Regions from separate parts of the Homo sapiens genome. Here regions 1, 3, 4, 5, 6 and 7 are each linked to region 2. Evidence: promoter capture Hi-C in 16 types of primary human blood cells and fetal thymus (Javierre and others, 2016). All regions are on one chromosome and are shown on one strand. The core of a region is centred on a gene start or on the middle of the fragment in contact, and the rest is flanking DNA. Distances in the headings are between cores, read along the strand shown. Region 1 has its middle 47 kb from the start of AKR1E2. Region 2 holds the start of TUBAL3 (tubulin alpha like 3). Region 3 has its middle 31 kb from the start of AKR1E2. Region 4 overlaps AKR1E2 (aldo-keto reductase family 1 member E2). Region 5 has its middle 5.4 kb from the start of AKR1E2. Region 6 has its middle 23 kb from the start of AKR1E2. Region 7 has its middle 47 kb from the start of AKR1E2.

Region 1 (3,268 bases), core at 614-3,113, 530 kb before region 2:
CTTCCCATCCATGAGATATTCTCTATTCATCTCAACCCAAATCAATAAACTCTGGAACAACCACAGACTCTTTTCTTTATATTCATCAAGAAATGGATAATCTGGGTGATGAGAAAAGCTGAAAAGGAAAGGGAAAGTCTTAGTCATTGTTTCTGGGCTCATAAAGACAGATTTCTGTTAAACTGGTGTGAGCCTACAATTAACACAGTTTTCTTTGTGAGTTAAGTACAAACCCAACTAGTTTTATGATAATAACATACTATTGCATGATGCTGTTTTGAATACACTGTGGAAAATAAATATACCTACACACGTGGGCACACATTCACAAATATACCAGTGCATTCCATTTTTGCAATATGTCATTCTACAGCTTGAGGAGATAAACTATTTGTGTTTATATTTTGAACCTCCAGGAGGGCAGAAACAAATTCTCTCTTTTTTAAAACAATGCTTAGTCTGATTTAATATATAAAGTTAATAAATATTTTAAGGTGATAATGAGGAAGGTGATAAAATTATTACTGTTCAATGTATGTCAAACATTCAGAAATGATTTGTCTATGACTTTTCTTGGGAGAAAATTTTATATTATACCTAGAGAGAGATACAGTGGTTAGAAGATGAAGTCACTTCAATGGGGTAGTTCCATTTTAGCAAGGGGGATACAAATTCTTTCTGTATATGAAGTAATAATTTTTGACATAGAAAATGCCAAGTCATTGAATAGTTATTGTTGATTAATATTACTGATATTTATTGTTAGGGGTTCCTGCCTGCATCTCCACTCTCTGTTACCCCTACCCTGTTTCTCATTTTATTATGTTATTTATTCAACCAATATGTATTGAGTACCCAGGGAGAGACTAGTTTAAGAACAAAAACAAAACAAAAACCCTGCCCTTAGAATCTAACACTCTAATGTGGTAAAGATAAAATAAGCTAAATAAACTAGTAAAATATATGGTGTGTAAGTTAGGGATATGTGTCAAGCACAAAAATAAATCAGAATAGAGAGAAAGGCTCTTCTAGGACGAGTTGCATTTTTAGATAAGTGACAGAGAAGGCATCATCGAGTGATATATGAGTGAAGACCTGAAGGATGTAAAGGAGTGAGCAATCCTGCTCTATGGGGAAAGAGATTTCTAGGCAGGGGGAATGGCCAGTGGAAAGGCCCTAAGACAGGCCTGACATATGTCAGTGATGTGGTTTGGCTGTGTCCCCACCCAAATCTCATCTTGAATTGTAACTCCCACAATTCCCATGTGTCGTCGGAGGAACCCAGTGGGAGGTGGTTGAATTATGAGGGTGGGTTTTTCCTGCGCTGTTCTTGTGATAGTGAATGAGTCTCACGAGATCTGATGGTTTTAACAACAGGAGTTTCTCTACACAGGCTCTCTTTTTGCCTGCTGCCATCCATGTAAGACGCGACTTGTTTCTCCTTGCCTTCTGTCATGATTGTGAGGCTTCCCCAGACACTTGGAACTGTAAGTCCATTAAACCTCTCTTCTTTTGTAAATTACCCAGTCTTGAGTATGTCTTTATCAGCAGTGTGAAAATGGACTAATACAGTCAGGAACAGCATGGAGGTCACTGGTGCTCCATTGGAGTCAAGAGTGGGGAGAATAGCAGGACAGGGACACAGAGAGTTAAGGGAGGGAGTGTCTATTGGCCCTTGTAGGTCTGTGTAAGGAATTTGGTCTCAACTCTGAGTGAGATGGCAGTCTCCCACATATTGAGGAGTTCCTGTGTACACCCTTTTTAACCTGTTCACTGTGGCTACTATGCCTGGTGCTGAAGTACAGAAGAGGGAGCACTACCAGGAGCCAGTTACTTTATCATAAAGATATCGGTATGAGTGTGGGGTGTGTGTGTGTGTGTGTGTGTGTGTGTGTGTGTGTCTGTGTGTCTGTGTGTATTGGGGAAGGGATTGCAGATACCAGTATGAGCCCAGTTACAGACATGATAAGTTGGAGATGCATAGTAGATATCCAAGTAGAGGCAAGTAGACACATATACAAACCTTGCTCCAGAGCCTTGAACTGGGCTGGATATGATTTGGGGAATCTATATTTAGATGATATTTGAAGCATGAGACTAGATGAAATCAACAATGATGTTAAAGTAGATAGAGAAAGGAGAAGAGGTCTAGGTTGAGCTCTAAGTCACTCCAAAACTGAGAGGTCAAGCTAATGCAGAGAAACCAGCAAAGAACATTAGAAGAAATGGCAAGGGTTGAGGGTATTTACAAGGATGTTGGTATATTGATTGACCCCATAATTTAAGTAGGCAAAGAAGGACAGAGGGCACATTAGAGGGTCAAGTAACAGTGAAAAGGTGGTACGGTCAGTGAATTATAGCTCATGTGGTAATCAAAGGATTGTTGAAGTTGGCCATGTAGAGAAGGAGCGGGACATGTAGGAGGTGATGACTATAGTGTAAGAATTTAAAATTGACATCCAGGCATGGTTATAGTAACTCGTAATGACAAGGTCTAGAATGAGACCATTAGGTTGATAGGCTGAGTTAGACTGAAGGATAAACACATTGGAAGAGGAAAGTCACAAAACTGAAAGATCAGACTATTACAAGGACTGTCTCTGTAGTGTTGAAATCAAAAGAAATTATGGCAGGTCTACTGTTGGAGAGGATGAAAACTAGGAACTAAAATCTTCGGTGGATGAGAGAAGACCTGGGAATGCAGCCCTGATGACTGCAAAGGACAGGGGTAGTGCTGGGTTTGTCTGATGACACAAAGTCCAGAGCTGAATGCTTTTAGAAAGAGAGTTCCTACTCAATATTCAGGCTTAGCACTACTAAGGTCTTGGGAAGGATAACAGCCCCAACTGGAGAGGGCTGACAGGAATCAGTGCTACCAAGAGAAATGGGGTTTCAGCTATTGGGAAAAGGTGAAAAGAACATTTAGAGAAGACAACAAAGATAAAACGGTTTTGCCAGTGGTTGAGTAGGAGTTTCAGAAAGCACAGTGAAAACATGTTGAGGTGGTGTACACAGAGCTATTTGGGAACCAGGAATTTTAGGCTCCTGTAGTGACTGAACTAACAGTGACAAAGACCATGTTAGCCTCAAGGGAGTTAAGGGGCTGGTTGGCAGGGGAGGATGGGAGTCTGTCCAGGAGCTACTGGATTGCTTGCTCTTCCCGTGTTTGGAGATGTTTACATACATATATGTACTAAATGTCACTGAACAGAAAAAAAAATAGCTTACAGATTTTTCTCTACAGCCTTCTGAGAATCATAGAGTCTAA
Region 2 (3,272 bases), core at 720-3,219:
GACTCCATGGAAAAATTGTGTCCCACAAAACTGGTTCCTGGTGCCAAAAAGTTGAGGACCACTGGTCTACACAGACCACTAGTCAGAGGAAAGTAAGGAGAGGGCTCTGGTCGGCCACACCCCTGCAATCTGACTTGGACTCTGTTCATGCTCAATGGCATCAAACCTTTGTACTTTGTCTCTGTGATTCACAAGGCATAACAGCCCTCTGCTTCATGACCAATTCAAGTTCACTACCTTAGTAGGGCTTCCATCTTGTTTATTTTCTGTGCAACTATCAGTCTCTCTAATTTAGAAAGCACTTCATTTAGGACAAACTAATATTCCACCTCTCAAGACAGCATATTCTGTTATAAACAGGCTTCGAATACCCCTTATCAGGCTTCAGATAACCTTAATCTTATTCCTCTCCCCTTCTGTCGGACTTAAAGTGCTGCAAATACATCAGCTGCTGTAATCTGATCAAAACTTGGCTCCTTAAATTTAAGTTAACATTTTAAAAGGAGAGGGTGAACGTTCATTGTTTCTACATCATTAAAACCTCTTACTTTGTAAAGTTTACATGTAGATTTCTCTGTCTTCTCCACTGGCTACCACCCAGTCCTGTGTTACAGTGACGAGTAAAATTCAGGTGTACATGTGGTATTTGTTCATAATAGTCACAGTAAAAATAATCACTAACATTAAAAAAAAAAAAGATTGTTCCTCTTCACGTGGTCTGTTCAAGTGACTCAGAAAGCAGAGTGATGCTGTTCTTTTTGAAATCAGCACGAATAGCCTGGACTAACAAGCATCCTTCGTCTTTGAAGGAGCTTAGCTTATAACATAACTCTGTCCAAGGGTGTAGAAGACTATCTTTGCCTTATTCTTCTCTTAGCCTCTCCCTTTTTTTCCAAATTCTCTATGAAAATATTAGTCACACTATAAAGTAGAAGACTATAAAATGTCCACTGAACGTCAACACTGATAAGTCATAGCACATTATTAAACGCTGCTATAAGGATTATTTGAATTACTAGAAAAGCATAACTCTCAGTTAAACTTTCAATTTTGAGGTCTTTGTAGATTGATATGCAGCTGTGAGAAATAACATAGGAAGATCCCTTGCATCCGTTACCCATTTCCCGCAGTGGAAACATCTTGCAAGACCATAATACAAAATCACACCCAGAATGTTGACAGTGATAAGATACAGAACATGCTATTATCACAAGTCTCTCTCATGTTGAAAGGCATAATTTTTAAAAGCAAAACAATTTAAAATTTTTTAAATGTTGGACAGAGAGACCAATGGGGTGAGAAATCAAAGATCAAGAAGCAGTTCGAAATGTTGCTTCCATTGAAGAATTAAAAATTCAAAGATACTGAAAAACTGGCACAGAAAAAAATAAAGGGCAAATGGATCTGAAAAGGTCATCCCAAAACAGAATTATTGTAAGTTATTCTATTCATTGTGGTGCCCAAAGAACTAAACTCAAGGGAGGGCAAAGAAGATGTCTGCGCACTTTACCCTGCCAGGCATTTATGAGGTTAGCCACGGTTACCTAAGTCTGAAGTCCTCAGAAACTCTTAACAGCCTAACGAAAAGTGAAGCAATGAATATCTACAGAAAAATCAGCACTCTGGGCCTAAAACAAAGGTGAAAACTAAAGGAAGGAAAGGTTTTTGCTTCAGTGCTTCAATTAATGGCAGTGAGCTACTGCAAATCAACTGAGCTTTACCTTGAAAGAAGCAACATTACAGAGGAATAGATTACAGCCTGTCCACATCTGCTCCCAACTCATCTACTTGGACATTGAAAGAAACAAATGTTTCTTTACAAATGTCTTCTCTTGCATTACAATTTTATTAAGAATTGTTTGCTGTGGGAAAAGGGCCAAATATGATTAGTAAAATTTCCTACAACAATGCATAGGCGTGTAGTCACTTACCATGCTGATGAGAACGTGCCCTTCCTGCCCTGTAGTAATGACTGAGGAGCCTCCCAGCTGAGCTTTATCACAGGGCCCGGAAATGACTCCACCTGAGGGCTGGAGCTTTCTTCACTTAAAGCAGTATAGCTTCTTTTTAGTTTTTTTAGTTATCTGGTCTCAGAGTAGCTGTGTTGGGCCTGAACAACCCGGGATAAAGTTTGTACACAGCTGCAGATGAACTACTGAGAGCTTATCCAAATCTGCGTCCAACTTATAACTATGTTGAAAAGAACATGTGTCTTTTAAAAATCACCCTTTTGGGTTAAGAATTTATTTAGCATTGGCAGAGAAAAGGAAGGAGTATGAGTAAAATTTTCTGCAACAGCAAAGTAGCTTTTTCTATTGCATGAGTACTATGTGAATATCTTCTTAAATAAATTTAAACAATCCCTGAATACATACAGCAAACCAAGACAGTGTCCTTTTTACATCTGTGTCCTATGCATGCCTCTCAACCACTACCACATCCAAACATATGGGAATTTTCTGTTTTTATTATTATTGTCTTTTGAACTTTTATATTATTATACATAATATATACTTATGTTATTATTTTTTATTAATTGCACTAAGATCAGATCACACATCTTAACTGAGTTCTCTCCTTATATATTTGCTAAAGCTTCCTTTATATTCTACTATATGGTCAATTTTTGAAAATATTCCATGAGTGTTGAAAAGAATGTGCATTCTACATTTGTTGGATGCAATATTTTAGATAGACCGATCATTCAATCAATCAATCTATTAAATCAAATGGATTTATTGTGTAGTCCAAATTTTACGTATCAATTATTTCAAAAGATGTATTAAAAGTTTTCATTATAATTGTGAATTTACCCATTATTTCTTTTTCTGTCAATTTTTCCTTTATACATTTTGAGGCCATGTTATGAAGAGCACATAAATTTTAAATTATTATATTTTCAAAAACTTTAACAATTTTTTATTTTTAAATTACCCTCCTTATATACATTAATTATTTTTACCTTAAAGTTTTTTTTTTTTTTTTTTTGAGATGCAGTCTTGCTCTGTCGTCCAGGTTGGAGTGCAATGGTGCGATCTCAACTCACTGCAACCTCCACCTCCCAGGTTCAAGCGATTCTTCTGCCTCAGCCTCTCAAGTAGCTGGGATTACAGGTGTGTGCCACTATTCCTAGCTAATTTTTTTGTATTTTTGATAGAGACAGGGTTTCACCATGTTGGCCAGGCTGGTCTTGATCTCCTGACCTCGTGATCTGCCCGCCTTGGCCTACCTTAAAGTTTTTATGATCAAATATTAATATTACTACTTTAATA
Region 3 (2,958 bases), core at 158-2,657, 550 kb before region 2:
GGTCCAATTCCTGGCTTAGGGAATGAGTCCTTTATCTTCTCTCTGTCTGTATTTGTATGTGTTGTGCATGTAATGTTTACATACGAAAGAGCTTTAATTTATTGGCTTAAAAAGAATAAGAGCTTAAATCAAACATTTTGTCAGAAAAATAAAAAGTGTAATGCCTTTTAGTTCATGTGACTTAAGTAATCTTTGGGAAATAAAGACAGTTTTAAAGATTATTGGTAAAATAAATACATTTGGTCTAAATTAGGCAGGTCAAATATTAGGTTTGCTAAATGCTTTAAGGGCATAAACTGCTTCTTAGACTTTTGAAAATTGTTCAATTTACCTAGTTCGGAGCATTCGATTCTAGATAAGGCCTGGGGACATGTGGAGAGCCATGCCCCCTAGCTGTGCAGGAAACAGTCAGCCCTTACCTGAACTTCTGTCTGCTGTCCTAGCCTGCACACCTAGTACAAAATTAAAATCCCAAACTTACCAAGGTTTTTCACCAAAAGTAAAAGTCGCTTAGAGTTAACAGTGTAACATATATTTGAGACTACTGGAGAAACTGTTCTACATGCAAGGTATGTAAAGAAAGTAGAATATGTTTTTGGTAAAAGACTATAAGAAGTCATGGGAATGTAGATTTTTCTGCTAAAGGGTTAAATAATTGTCTTAAGTTAGAGTAAAGCTGAAGGTTTAAGCTAGTCGTGGAAGGTTTGTGAAAAATTAATCCTGTAAAAGAAATTCTGTTTGTGAACATATTGGCTAAAGTTAAAGGGGTATTATCTAGCTTTTTGTAGACTGAATATTGGAATAAAAGCACAACAGGTTTTTCTTAGAGCAAAAACCTGCTTATGACCTGCTCTTTAACAAAAATTATAAAGGGTTATAAAAGCTTTATAAGAATCTTACCTTATGGTCAAAGTGAATACGATTGGATACATTTATCTATAAGGTTTTATTAAGAATTAGGTCTGACATCAATAATGCACTAATGCAACAGTGACAGTTGACTTATTTGGTATAAAAGTCATACAGGAAGCATTGTCAAATATGAAATGGTGTTTGATTTTCTTTCAGGTGTGTTTGTATAAATGTATTATTAGTATATGTTCCAAAATTATGGGAAACTGCTATAATTCTGATATGACTTAGTGTATGTTATTAATACACTAGTTGTTACATAAAATCATTCCATGGCACAGAGGTAACCAAATTTCTTTGTCAATTATGTTTTTGACTGTAACTGTCCTGAGACTTTTGTCATCCATGGACAATTTTTGCCTTGTTTTGGTCCTCTTTAGAAGATGGTTTATAATCAACTGTAGAACTCTACTGTTCGGTGGTATTAAGTACATTCACATTGTTGTGCAACCATCACCATCATCCACTTCCAGAGTATTTTCATCTTCTCCAGCTGAAACTCTCTACTTATTAAACAATAACTCCCCATTCCCTCCTCCTCCAACCCCTGGCAACCACAAGTCTACTTTCTTGATCTATACATTTGACTCCTCTAGGGACCTCATATAGGTAGAATCACACAATATTTGCCTTTTTATGCCTGGCTTATTTCACTTACCATATTGTTTTCAAGACTCATCCATAATTCATTAGTTCACATTGCGTGGCTGTACCAAAACATCTTATGTACCCTGATATGGTTTGGATCTGTTTCCCCACCCAAATCTCATGTTCAATTGTAATCCCCAGTGTTGGAGGTAAAACCTGGTGGGAGGTGATTGGATCATGGGGTTGGAGTTCTCATGAATGGTTTAACACCATCCCCCACTTGGTACTGTATAGTGAATGAGTTCTCATAAGATCTAGTTATCTAAAAGTGTGTAGTACCCCCCACACACACATCTTCTCTGTCTTCCTCATGCTCCAACAATGTGAAGTGCCCCTCCCTCTTTCCCATCTGCCATGATTGTAAGTTTCCTGAAGCTTCCCCAGAAGTTGAGCAGATGCCAGCATCATGCTTTCTATACAGCCTGTGGAACTGTGAGCCAGTTAAACCTCTTTTCTTTGTAAATTACCCAGTCTCAGGTATTTCTTTATAGCAATGCAAGAACAGACTAATACGTACTCCATAAATATATATACCCGCTATATGCCCACAGAAATTAAAAATAAAAATAAAAATTTTTAAAAAGATTCATCCATGATTCAGTATTGGTAGGTTATGTGTTTCTATGGATTTGTTCATTTTATCTAGGTTATCTAACTTGCTGGCATACAACTTTTTACACTACTCTCTCATACTTTTTTTTATTTAAATGAGTTTTTAAATTTCTGATTTCAGTTGAGTCTTATCATTTTTTAATTTTCTTAGTAAAGCAAGCTAAATGTTTTTCAATTTTGTTGACCTTTTTTGAAGAACCAACTCATTGTTTCATTGTTGTTTATTTCTACCTTTGTAAATATTTTCTATTTTATATATCTCTTCTCTTGTCTTTATTATTTCCTTCCTTCTGTTAGATTCGGTTTCGTTCTTTTTCTAGTTCCTTAGGATGTAAAGTTAGTTTGTTGATTTTACCATGTTAGTTTTAATATAAATATTATCTATGTTGTCAATTTCTTTCATTGACATTTCAGGAAAACGAGTCAAAATGAGTCATACTTATTCTTTGACTTTGTTTGACGTAGCTCATAGTGTTAACTACTCCAGGGAAACAAATTTGAGAAGATCAATTTTAGGCCATTTGAAAATTGGAGTCAGTAAGCATATGAGTAGATCTTACATATATGAAGAAAAAAAGGAAAGTTGGGTACTGTTTTTATATAGACCCACTCATTTATTTCTTCATTCATTCATTCATTCATTCATTGAGCCTACAGCAGGCTGAATCCTATATTCCCCATTAAAAATGAATAGATGAATTGTCTTTGGTCTTTACCACAATATTAAATGGTGGAGATAGTCATGTAAGCAAATAATTATTTCAATGCAATTGGTGCTTCAATTGA
Region 4 (3,014 bases), core at 229-2,728, 570 kb before region 2:
ACTCAGAATGGTGATTAAAGGCAGCAGCTAGGCAAGTGGCTTTCTTGAAGGTGCATCTGGGTAGATGGTACTGTTGGCAGGCAGGGCATGAGCTGGTGCTTGGCCCTCCATGTGCAGTGCAGGCAGGTCACCAGGTGTACTCAGAAGCAGTCAGGGTCCTGGCAGGTGCCTCACCCTTATCCAGGAACATGGGCCTCCCCTCTACCTCTTCCCAGCCTGCAGACTGCAGCAAGAAAGAGTGGATGACTAGATGGCTTCACGCGAGGCTCACAGGCTGCTGAAGGTGATGCAGGCACTTCGTTTTTTTAATGCAGAGAAAAGACTTGTGGGGAAATAACTATTGTATTTTCTAGACTAGCTTTGTATGTTCAAAGATCATTTATACAGTACTTAAGCTTTTTATTGAAGAGTAGAAGTGCACATGTGAAAATGGAACTGTATAAATTCTCATAAACTGAGCATAGCTCTGGGACTAGCATCCAGCTCAGTAAACAGCACGTCCAGTGCCCCTGTAACCCCTGCCGAGCACAGCATCATTCCCATTCCCAGCAGCTGGGATTCACGTCTGAACTTTACACAGGTAAAATAAAATAATAATGCAACATAAACCCCTCTGTGCTCGCCTCTTTCACACAGCACTGTGTTTCTGTACATGTGATTGTAGATAGTGCTCTCTTATTTCTTGTGGTATTCTGTTTTGTGAATTAACCACAATTGAGTTATCCATTCTGCTGTTAATGGGCACTTAGACAGTTTCCAGTTTGGGACTATTAAGAATAGAGCATCATGTTCTATTTTTTTGAATAAATATGCTTTTTAAAAAAGTTCTGTATGGAGTAGATGCAGAAAAGTGTGTGAATCATAAAAGGCATACATAGCTTGATGAATTTTTGCAAGTGAACAAACTCAAGTATTCAGCACCCAGAACAAGAAAAAAGCCCTCAGCCATTCAGTAGCTCCCCTGGGTCCTGTTGTAGCCACCACCATGAAGAGCAACCTGGCTTCTGACCCAGCTTCTCATGTAGTTCAGCTTTGCCTTGTATACAACCCTATATATATAAGTTTTGATATATGTTTATATGGATAGTAGCTTCCGTTTTGTGTCAGTATTTTTAGTTGTTCAGCACTTTAAATACCTGGGAATGATTATGGCATAGTCTGAGTAGACAAAGTGGGGTGGAGGGTCTGCTTTCTGTTAGGTTGATGGACACCAGGAACACAGGATGCGGAAGGCTCCAGAAGGGCTGGCCTCTCTTTTGGAGGCTTTCCAAACAGGCTGATCTTGATGAGCTTGGCATGTTCCTGAGAGCAAACGCACTATTCATAGTTCTCTGTAATTTACACTAAATAACTATTTATTTTAAATCTCCTTATAACCTGGAATTATATGTGAGAGTTTGGAGAATGTGCAAGAGACAGAGATCCTGCTCTCTAGCTTCTTAAAATTTTCATTCAAGTCACCTGTAGAATGTATTTGTCACATGTAGTTCCTCAATTTCATTCATTCATTCAGTGGATATATTTTTAGCACTTCCTACATGTCTAGATTGTTCTTAGTGTTGGTGAGACATCTATGAACAAAACAAATTCAAACAAAAATCTCTATCTTCATGAGGCTTAGATCTTGGTGACACAGAAAGACAGTGAGCAAATATGTAAAATCTATGAGATGTCAGATAGTGATAGATGCTGTAGAGGAAAATAAAGGCCGGGGGAGATGAGAGCTATGGTGTGTTAACAATCTTTATCTGAGTGCTCAGGGAAGGCCCTGCAGAGCAGGTGGTATTGGAACATTCAGATGATGTAGGTGTCCCCAAGGCCGTGGACTCAGAGACCATGACACCTGCTGGCCTCTTGGAGATTGCTCTGTCCAGACTCCTCACAACAGAAACACTTAGGCCTGGAGCTGGGCCCCATGGCTACTCGGTGACAGCCAAGACTTTGACGCAGGTCTTCTCTTGTAGAGCTTTTCTTGAACACTAGTGGTCTGAATTTTATGTAAGCTATGATTCTGTTATAGATTGAGTGCCACCCATATCTTACTCAGAAGAATCTGATCAGTTTTTGCCAATCCAGAGATGTGTCCGTGACTGCTTACCGTCCTCTTGGTGGCTCGTGGTAAGGATACCTCAGTGGTGTGTTAGTCAGAGTCCGACTGGGAAGTAGATGCCACCTTCTCATTTCCTTGGGATGACTGAGGGAGGGCTTAATGGAGGTTTTGACAGGGTGTGGAGGGATGGTACTATAGGGGGCTGTCCACACCTCTCAAGCCTGGGATTGAAGGCATGGTTTATTATTGGAAGCCAGGGAGTGGCTGTGAGTGGGCTGCCCTGGGAGGGTCAGGACCTCTTCAGGGACGTAAATCAGCCTGGAGTGACCCCTTTGCTGAGTTCCCCACCAGGGTGTCAGCCCCCTTCTGACCTCCTGACAAGGATGCTCCCCAGGCCTCTCCATGGTTGGATGAGGCAAAGCCTGCTGTCATCTTTACCCAGGCCCTCCTGCAGCTGTACTGTGCTCCCAAGATCAGCTAAGAGACCTCCAGCCATTCAGCCACCTAAGCCAGAAGCTTGGAAATCATCCCTTCCCACATCCCGAGTCCAATCCAGCACCAAAATCTATTGATTATTCTGCCAGGAGAAGTTGGACTTTGTTTCATGATTTCATTTCTGCCATCACTGTCACTGCCTTAGTTAAGTAGCATTCCCGAGGTCATTAGAGGAGCCCCTCAGCTCCCTCCCTGGCCCACTCCATTCCAATCCATTGCTCCCAGTGGGAGCTGAAAGGAGCTGTCTCTTTCCTTTCCTATGATCCTATCACTTTCCTGGGAAAAATTCTTCAGGTCTTGGTGTGGCCTGTGAGATGCAGCCAGCCTGACCTCTGCCTGCCTCTGGCCTCATTCCTTCCCATCCCTGTGAACATCCTGGGCTTCAGCCACATGAAGCTGCTGTGGGGTCCTTGGATAGAACATGTTTTCTCACCTCTGTGCCTTTGCAAATACTGTTCTCTTTACCCAC
Region 5 (2,912 bases), core at 38-2,537, 580 kb before region 2:
CATGTGGAGGTCGGTCATAATCAATCACTGATAGACATAAATCTGCAAAGAATTCACTTGAGGGGGAGATGAGTGTCTTCCACCCCATTCAAGGTTGCCATTTTCCACAAAGTTCAGGCAGTGGAGTGAAATGCCACAATAATACTCTATTAAATCAACACATTGGTAATGTGATGGCAACACCTGTAGCCATTTCAGATACAGGCAGAAGCTCGCAGTTATTAAAGCCACATGGAGAGGGTACAGCAGGAAATGAAGAAAGAGGGAAGAAGGAGAAGCAGAGAGAGGAGAGATGCATAATTTAATACCTCCAGAAGCAACCTTGCTACAGACCATCGTCTGTTTCTATTTTTTTTCTCTGTGTCACACAGTGCTATAATGCAGAGGAACCACTGCTTTGAAGGGTATATGCCTGCACAGTCTGAGATTGACAAGTCGCTGTCCCCCGTGTGTCCCCATCGATGAGAACCACATTTATGGTTCTTGTGGTTGCTTGGACAGTCTTTATTTTCATCATGAGACAAAGATAAGGCAGACATTTCTGGTGAAAGTCTAACAGTTAAGTTGTGGTAAAAGATAGGATAGTTGGCGTTGGGCAACTTCAGTGAAAAAGAGCTCCTTATAATATCATAATCTTGTCCTCAGAAACTCGTGGACTATTATTTGTGGCTGCCTTTTCATCCTTTACTTTAGCAACTTACCGGTTGCTTTCTGTGTATGTGGGGCCAGTTTATGTGAGATTTGAAGAAGGGATTTTCCTTTATTGGGAATGTCTAATGAGCACTTACAAGCAGAATTTCCTCCCGATTTTTTTCCTCTGCACTCTGAATACTGGAAAGTGTTTTGAGGGCCTTCTGACAGTACACCACAGTGATTTTTTTTTCTGTCGTAATCCATTTATGACTAAAAAACATGATGCTTTTTGTTTTTGAGATAGAGTCTCGCTCTGTCACCCAGGGCAGAGTGCAGTGGCACAGTCTTGGCTCACTGCAACCTCTGCCTCCCAGGTTCAAGCGATTCTCCTGCCTCAGCCTCCTGAGTAGCTGAGATTACAGGCATGCGCCACCACGCCTGGCTAATTTTTGTATTTTTAGTAGAGACAAGGTTTCACCATGTTGGTTAGGCTGGTCTCGAACTCCTGACCTTGTGATCCACCCGCCTCAGCCTTCCAAAGTGCTGGGATTACAGGCATGAGCCAACGCATCTGGCCACATGATGCTTTTTTTTTGGTTGCTCACATGACAAGCTATTATTTTTGTGTCACTTTAAACAGAACTTAAGGTATAGACTTCATGCATTCCTTCTTGAGCCCTCTTCCATTACAGCAGTTAAATTTTGTCCAGATTCTGTAAACTAGTATTGCTGCCTGAGTGGCCGTGGTATTTCCTTTGAGCTGAACTTGGCCATTTTAGCTTCTTATTAGACAAAACAGTATACTTGGAGTCCTGGTGAATAACCAGACAAATGGAATTTCTTGTCCACAAAGCTCTAGCACAGTGGTTCGGCGCAGAGGCCCATGCTTCCCTACTTGATCTTGTCGTCACTGGCTCAGCCAAATGCTATTTCTCAAAGTTCATAAATCTCACATCCTCTTTGTGGAGTCTTTCCCCTTTTTGTACATGTATAATCCCCGGCCTCTAAGTAGTCTATTCACTTCTAAAGCTGTTGACTTGGCAAGATAACAACTGCATCATTCACACAAGCAAATCTGCTCTTGGAGGACAAAAAGAGGTTTATTTTGGCTTAGATGACTCCGATTGGCCATCTCCATTGAAACCTTGGCAGAAGATAGGTCCCTTGGCTACTGGGGAGAAAAGTCAAGTAAACCTTTAGTGCCAGGAATGGTGTTTGTAAAGATTCGGCATGAAGTGGTACATTTCGTCCTTGGGCTTCTTACTGGCTTCAACCCAAACAGAATCACTTAGTGCTGTTCCCCGGGTTAATGATGTTATTAGAACAATTGACTCAAAGCAAGAACTGAAAGGCTGAGTGCTTTGTTGTGAGGTGTGCAAAAATTCAAGTCTATCAAAACAGGCTTAGCAGAGCTGCCACCAGCAGGACAGCGTTTAGCTTTTGTTTGCTGCTTCTTTGATTCTTCATGGGCAGCTGGCATTTCTGTTGCTGGTTTCTACTCTCTCATCCCTAGTGGACCCTACGTTTTCTCCCCTGAGTGTGCTTATCTGTCCAGCTGCAAAAAAAAAAAACAAAAGGTGTGCTGTTGTTTCTGCACTTCTCCCTGTCCTCATCTCTCAACATCATATGTGTGCAGAGAAATCACACTTGTTGCTCTGTTGTCTCAAAAGGTCTAGCCCTGAGTTTGCTGAGGTGATGATGAAGGTTGTGTGAAGCTGTGTCAAACACTGAGAAACATACACACAGGCTGTAGCAGATGTGTGTTATTCCCTCAATGCATGCACCAGTGATGGGGATTTAGAATGAGCCACTGTGCAAAGATGCCCCAGAGAGACTATTCCCTATACATTATTATTCAGTGTAAGATACCCAATAAAGCAACTAGATAAAGAAATGCCTATATCTAAACCTAAAATATTCACTCACTCCCAGCGTTAACTTCCCTCATCCTTAAGAACAGGCTATCCATGGAGCTACCAAAATGCACTTTTAAAAAGTGTGTTCATGCTGCACTTCATATTCATGCTCCCTTTTCCCTTGACAATGTGTTATATGTTGAGAATCTTTAAATAAAACTGCTCAACCACCAAAAAATTATTTCTCCCCATTTCTATTCATCAGTACTTCTTATCTTGAAGGCTGATTTCAATAATCATTTATCCCTCACAACTTCATACAATTTCTTCCTTTTAGAGTCCCACTGAATATCATTTATATTTATCCCACGCTATTTTTTTATTCTAGTTTATATTATTACTTGTGAACTTTCCTAATCTCGT
Region 6 (2,867 bases), core at 92-2,591, 600 kb before region 2:
CAACTCCTGGATCCACTCTCCAAGCCCAAACCCCTTCCTGAGAAACATTCTAGGTATAACTGATGAACCTGAGATGTCATGAGAGCAGGGCAAGGCCAACAGGATGCTCTCTTCCTGGAATGTGGATTTGGATTTCAAACTCTAACGAGTGTCTGTAAGCCGCTTAACTGGTGTCCTGCAGGCAGGGCTGAGGAGAGTTTGGGTTGTTTTGACTCATGCACACCCAAAATCAGAACATGTTTGTTTGCAAGGAGAGAAAAGAACAAAGCAGAAGAGAGACACAGAGATGAGAGGTTTGTCACCTTGGGTCACAGCGAGCCTGTGGCATGGTTCCCTGGGAGGCCCTGCTGCCCCTCTGCCTTCCCTTAGGTGCCTCAGATCTGTACCACAGCCCTTGGTGCTGCATTCTGCCAGCTCAGAGGGGTTTTGTTAATTGCAACCAAAAAGACTTGCTTAAGTATTTTAATTTCCACTTCCTAGTGGTTTTAATTAATAGTTGTTAGATGAATTAATGTAAAAACAAATGAATAAAGTAACCGCTTTAGATGAATTTTAAAAATTTTATTAAAAACATGAATATTATTTCTTCAACTAATTATCTACATCAGTGTTTTTTATGATTTCTCTCCAATTCCACTCTTTCCCCCACCAAAAAAGAGACAGTTGTCTTTCAGACACTCTTAGGATTACCTCATCCAAAATATTTGTTTTAAATGAAAAGACTTGATTTGTGAGGGGGATGTGTATATATGTGTGTGTGTGTGTGTGTGTGTGTGTGTGTATGTAGCAGAAAAAGAGGGGAGGATAAGGTCCTTTTCTATGCAACTCTCTGAGCAAAAACAATGCAGTCCTTTAAAAAATTGTTATCTTCTAATGTTAAAATAGCTAATTCTTATTTAAAGATTTAGTTGTAAGTCTTAAAGAAAATGTTAGTCTTTTAAAGATACAAGAAGTGTTAAGGGCTTCTCCACTTTTATTGGGCTGTTGGATTGGGTATTAAAATTGAGAAATATGCCTTATAAAGTTGTTTTTAATTGTAAATAAGTTCATGCATTGTTAAATTCAATTCTTGAAATATTCTGTTTCTAAGCAAATACACAACAGTACATAGCCAGTTTGCTATAGTTTCATGTTTTAAATTTTGTGTACATTTCATGTCACATGTTTCTTAATTTTTAGATGTTTACATATCTGAGCCTATGTTATCCTTGTACAAGTTTGATGGGAAAGCAACCAACACACTGATCTTTTATTCTTATTCAATTTTTCTTTCATAGGTAATTTCTGCACTAGTTTTATTTTACCTGAATTTGATCAGATGTTTTAAATGATCCAAATTCCTAGCACTAGAAAAAATCCAGGCTTTTGTAGTTTATGTTGTTGTTGAACGAGAAGAAGACCAGACAAGTAGACACACGTTCACTAATCATAGGGGTGACTTCCTTTCCAGTGTTCAGCAAGGGATGGGGTATAAGGCAATGCCAAACTTCAACCTGCCCATCAGGTGAAAGAGTGAAGAATGTTTAATGTAGAGTTGTTCTTGAAACTAGGCCAGATGATGTCACATACTGGCTTAATTTTTTCTATTGGATGCTTAATTATTTGAGGATTCTGCAGGAAAAGTCCGGGTTGAGTTGGCTTGTTCAATACTAAAATATTTTTCTCCTGCTAAAGCACACACATTCGCTCACAGCAGTGTATATGGAACTTATAGATGTTTATTTTTACCTCTTTTTTTCTTTTCCCTTCCTTTCTTACTCTCACTACCTAAGTTCAAGGTCTGTGGACTGTGTACTTGTGGAGGAGGAGCACCAGGAAGGGGAAGGGAGGGATTCCTGCTGGCAGGAACCATGGAGAGCACATCCCTACCTAACCCTGCAGAAAAGTAGCCACAGCTCAAGGAGGTCTCTCATGTAGATCTATAGAGTAGCCCGTGCAAAATAGCATCTTTCATCACAGAGTGACTGACTTTTAACAAAGCAATAAAGCTAAGCCTCTTTGGCCCATCTACCAGAATGAGGACACTGCGTTGTTAAGAAATCACTCAATTAAAATAATATTTGTCGAAATTGTACTTGACCTGTAATCAAGAGCGACATTTGACACCTTAGTGCAGCTTCTCAAATGTTACTTATTATGACTTGGAAGGGTAACAATAAACAAAAACAACACAACAAATAAATACAACAAGAGGCAAATCACACTTCCCTTTGGTTTCAGAATCTACAATGACTGCTTGAACATTTGCCTAGTTTAGGAATATGTCTTTGTCTCAGGATTTTAGGGGTGCAGAAAGGAATGAGAGTATATGGAGCCCACCTTTTCTGAACTAGCTTTCCCAGTAGCCTGGAAACAGAAGGATTTTCTTGCTTGGTAGAGAGTATTGAACCCTGTCCTTCTGTGTGTCCAGGCCAATGTCTGTCGAGAGCTTGACTCTCTGTGCTGGAACTAACCTTGTCCATCTTCCCATAGTTCAGTATTGTCTTCCTCAAAATAAAGGAAATTATCTCCAACTTCTTGAAACATGCAGAATTTTGAAATGGTTTTCTTTATAAAAACGATAATATCAGCATATTTTCTAAACTGCTTGTTAGAGGTATAGAGTTGTGCAGCTTAGATTTGGCTGTTGTGTCAGACCTCTGTGTTCCAGTCCTCCTGTGGAGTGGACCTGTGACATCAGAACACACAGAGGTGGGGACTGGAATATCTCAGAGTTTCCCCAGGGGCTCCAAAGGGCTGGAAGTGTGGGTCCCACCTCCTTCCATGAGGGGCAGAAGAAATGTGTTGAAAACCAGCGATGGACAGGTGATGCATCAGGCTCTCAAGTCTCATTTCTAGATTCCATCATCCACATCAATTTTTCATCT
Region 7 (2,998 bases), core at 10-2,509, 630 kb before region 2:
TGTCCTGGGTGGGGTAGGATCCTGGGACAGAAAAATTAAATAAATACATAGGTAAAAAACAAGAAAATCTAAATACATTAGGGGCTTTAGGGAATAATATGTTGATATTGCTTTATTAATTGTGACACATGCACCATACTAAGATCAGATGCTAATGACAGAAGGAGGAAACAGTGGGGGATGTGTGGAAACCCTCTAATTGTTACAATTTTTCTATAAACCTAAAGCCACTCTAAAATAAAAAGTTTATTTTAAAATACGTAATGCCCGTAATTTTTAAATGTGTAAAAATTTAATTTGTTTTAGGTGATAGTCATTTGACACTTAATATATGAAAATATTTTGCAATAAAAACAGTTATGTCACATTAAAAGTCACTGATTCATAGTTTTCTAATGAAAGAGTAGCATATTACTGTTGTTAGGAATCTTTTGTTTGAGTCCTATCACTTTGTATTGTCACACTAGGCAAAAATATCATAATCCAAGTATATATTTCTAAAATTAAATTCCCATAACTCAAAGGAATTTAAATTTAACAATGGGTAAATCTTCCTCGGGTCTTTCCATATGGTTTTATATGACTCATCTATAAAAGAAGCCCCTAACGGACTCCTGTTCCTTATATTCGGCTTTTCTAGAACCGGCAGCAGTCTTGGATGTCACAGTGTACCTCGGCTCTGCATTCTACAAAAAAGGATAATAGAATTGATGTGCAACAAACATTTTATTCTAATACATCTATTAAAGAGATTTGCTATGAAGCATTCAAACAATAAGTATGCAGTTTGACTGTAAGAGTTTTGCTTTTTAAACAATCATTTGAGTTTAGAATCTGGGAGAAAGGTCAGTGCATCAATAACATTGTTCTCTCTTTGGAAAAAGAGAAAAAAAAGTCCTGAGATAACATCTAAGAATTTAGTTTTCTAAATGTCTTGGCATTTGGATTGGAGTTTTAACCTGGCATAAACATTATTACAATTGAATACATACTTGTTCCAGTGAGCATCAGATTTGGTGCTTAAGTAAGAATTATTGATGATTAGTAAATTGTTAGAATTAGATGTAATATTCTAAATCTTGTTTTAAATCCACTTTGAGAAATATAAAATGCCATACCCTTTTCCAGCCAACAAATCAAATAAAAAAGTAATAATCATTTTAAAATTATGCTTTTCTTCTTAATTTATATTTTGCCATTTTTCTCACTTTTCTTTTAAAAAAACAACTAAACTAATATGTCTCATTAGGAATCCCTTGAGTCAAATCTCATATGAGATTAAGCCAATGTTGAGAATTCCAAGAAAGAGAATTCAAAGGTAGGCAGAAAAAGGTATTTGAAGTTAGCCGGCTAATTTGCCATATGTAGAAAAACTATAACTACCTGCTTAGATACACCTTTTTCTAAAATTGGATTTATATCTTCAACAAAATAAAATATTCTATTTACATGTGCGTTATGCTGTGCCTTGCTTGTCAAAATGTTTCCCATGGATCAGGCACATCAGCATCACAGGTAGCTGGTTAGAAATGCACTCTTGTCTCCACCTGAGATCTACTGAGTAAGAATCTACACTTAGCAAGATTTCCGGGTGGTGTGTGTGCATATGAAAGTTTGAGAAGCACTGTTCCATACAGCCACTGTTATTTGAAACAATATTTTTACCAGTACGTGCTATATAAAATTCAAGCTAAAGTTTAATTTGCTGTTACTGCTTTTGTTATTTATTCATTTCATCTCCTTTTCCAAAATTTTCTCCTCCCTAGCACTGCGGCAATCTGCCTCTGTAATTGGTCTCTGACATCTCCGTTACATCATGGCCCCAAAGAAGCCACCGTTCTTGAGGAAGCATGGGAGGTAGAAAATTATACCATTAATTTTTGCATTATTTAAGTAAGTAGTTAACAAATGACATACATATAATTTTTAAAAACAAACCACTATCCAATAACTCTATCAAGATTTCCAAAACAATTATTTCGAAGGTTAAGTTAAAGGCATTTGCATACACAGAATTTGAAGCCACCAGATAAAAAGATCTAGAAGATGTTCTCAAAAGTTTACAATATCTGAAATGCAAAGCAAGAATTTGTATTTTGACATTGGGCTCTAATGAAAGAGATTGTGCATGTATATATGCATGCGTATTTTAAAAACCCTTATTAAGATTTTAATTTGCCATCAAGGGCAACTTGTCATACGAAGATGAAACTATTTTATGATTCATTAGCCAAGTGTGACTGAGACAGCTGAGATTAATTTAATCTTGGCTTTTATGCATTAGTATTCAAAAGGAATCTGAAGCAGAGAGCAGCACTTGGTTTTATTTTTATAATGAAGGAAATATTTTGCAGCTTCTCTGTTTTGATGATCACAATGAGCTGGTGGATTAAATGATTCTATAGTTTAACACAAATATGGATTAAGAATGAAAGCTATTTCCATGATGTCTTGCTGTCCTTTAGACACATGCTTGAATGACACTGTTATGAGAAGCAGAAGCTGTAACATTTACTCTGGAAAACAAATGTTTACCTCAAGCAGCAACTGACATTTCTAGCTTCTTGCATGAATATCAGGCACTGCTTCAAATCACTTACCAGCCTCAGTCCTTGTATCTTGGTCTTGGGCCTCAGGCCAGTATTAGGTGAGGGGACCTGACCTGACTGAAACCAGGATGCCTTAAGCACACCAACAAGGGGCTCTCCCAAGTCTACATCCTCAACACCTGAGCCCTGATTAAGCACATCGTCACGATGATACACTGCGGTTGCCATTACTATTGATGGCATGTCTATAGAGACCTCTGGCTAAAAAAGACCCTAGGTCTTCCTGTCAGCGGTACTTCTTTCCTCTTCTGCTGCGTGCATATAATCCATCATGACAGTAAGCAGAGCTCTTTAATTCTCTATCCCCTTTCCATTATAACAATGAAACATCCCTCTTAATCTCTTAATTGCTGCAACAACTGTATGAGTCATCATTCTGATATTTCCCC

Evidence for each region. The method cuts DNA at HindIII sites, captures the fragments that hold promoters and counts their contacts. A CHiCAGO score of 5 or more calls a contact.
Region 1: a contact is called between a fragment that was not itself captured here and the fragment with the promoter of TUBAL3 in region 2, in 10 of 17 cell types (non-activated CD4 T cells, M2 macrophages, monocytes and 7 more). The highest score is 11.9, in non-activated CD4 T cells.
Region 3: a contact is called between a fragment that was not itself captured here and the fragment with the promoter of TUBAL3 in region 2, in 14 of 17 cell types (M0 macrophages, total CD8 T cells, M1 macrophages and 11 more). The highest score is 18.9, in M0 macrophages.
Region 4: a contact is called between a fragment that was not itself captured here and the fragment with the promoter of TUBAL3 in region 2, in 15 of 17 cell types (M0 macrophages, M1 macrophages, total CD8 T cells and 12 more). The highest score is 13.6, in M0 macrophages.
Region 5: a contact is called between a fragment that was not itself captured here and the fragment with the promoter of TUBAL3 in region 2, in 10 of 17 cell types (erythroblasts, megakaryocytes, total CD4 T cells and 7 more). The highest score is 9.2, in erythroblasts.
Region 6: a fragment that was not itself captured here is called in contact with the fragment with the promoter of TUBAL3 in region 2 in 8 of 17 cell types (erythroblasts, megakaryocytes, total CD4 T cells and 5 more); the score reaches 12.0 in erythroblasts.
Region 7: a contact is called between a fragment that was not itself captured here and the fragment with the promoter of TUBAL3 in region 2, in 1 of 17 cell types (monocytes). The highest score is 5.1, in monocytes.

What each region holds. Positions count from the first base shown.
Region 1 is chr10:4,871,821-4,875,088 of GRCh38, forward strand. It overlaps a transcript of AKR1E2 not described here and the pseudogene AKR1C6P. Among named protein-coding and RNA genes, the nearest start is that of AKR1E2, 47 kb to the left of the region's middle. The HindIII fragment of the contact is 5,702 bases long and covers 1-3,268 here.
Region 2 is chr10:5,402,859-5,406,130 of GRCh38, forward strand. TUBAL3 (tubulin alpha like 3) reads right to left here and starts at 1,970. Exons shown (of 4, transcript NM_024803.3): 1 at 1,932-1,970. The coding sequence starts at 1,934. The HindIII fragment of the contact is 4,190 bases long and covers 1-2,593 here.
Region 3 is chr10:4,855,561-4,858,518 of GRCh38, forward strand. It overlaps a transcript of AKR1E2 not described here. Among named protein-coding and RNA genes, the nearest start is that of AKR1E2, 31 kb to the left of the region's middle. The HindIII fragment of the contact is 1,052 bases long and covers 882-1,933 here.
Region 4 is chr10:4,837,709-4,840,722 of GRCh38, forward strand. It overlaps AKR1E2 (aldo-keto reductase family 1 member E2), which reads left to right. Exons shown (of 10, transcript NM_001040177.3): 6 at 2,021-2,118. Among named protein-coding and RNA genes, the nearest start is that of AKR1E2, 13 kb to the left of the region's middle. The HindIII fragment of the contact is 2,171 bases long and covers 394-2,564 here.
Region 5 is chr10:4,819,398-4,822,309 of GRCh38, forward strand. No RefSeq gene overlaps it. Among named protein-coding and RNA genes, the nearest start is that of AKR1E2, 5.4 kb to the right of the region's middle. The HindIII fragment of the contact is 5,131 bases long and covers 1-2,912 here.
Region 6 is chr10:4,801,450-4,804,316 of GRCh38, forward strand. No RefSeq gene overlaps it. Among named protein-coding and RNA genes, the nearest start is that of AKR1E2, 23 kb to the right of the region's middle. The HindIII fragment of the contact is 3,618 bases long and covers 1-2,867 here.
Region 7 is chr10:4,778,039-4,781,036 of GRCh38, forward strand. No RefSeq gene overlaps it. Among named protein-coding and RNA genes, the nearest start is that of AKR1E2, 47 kb to the right of the region's middle. The HindIII fragment of the contact is 5,828 bases long and covers 1-2,998 here.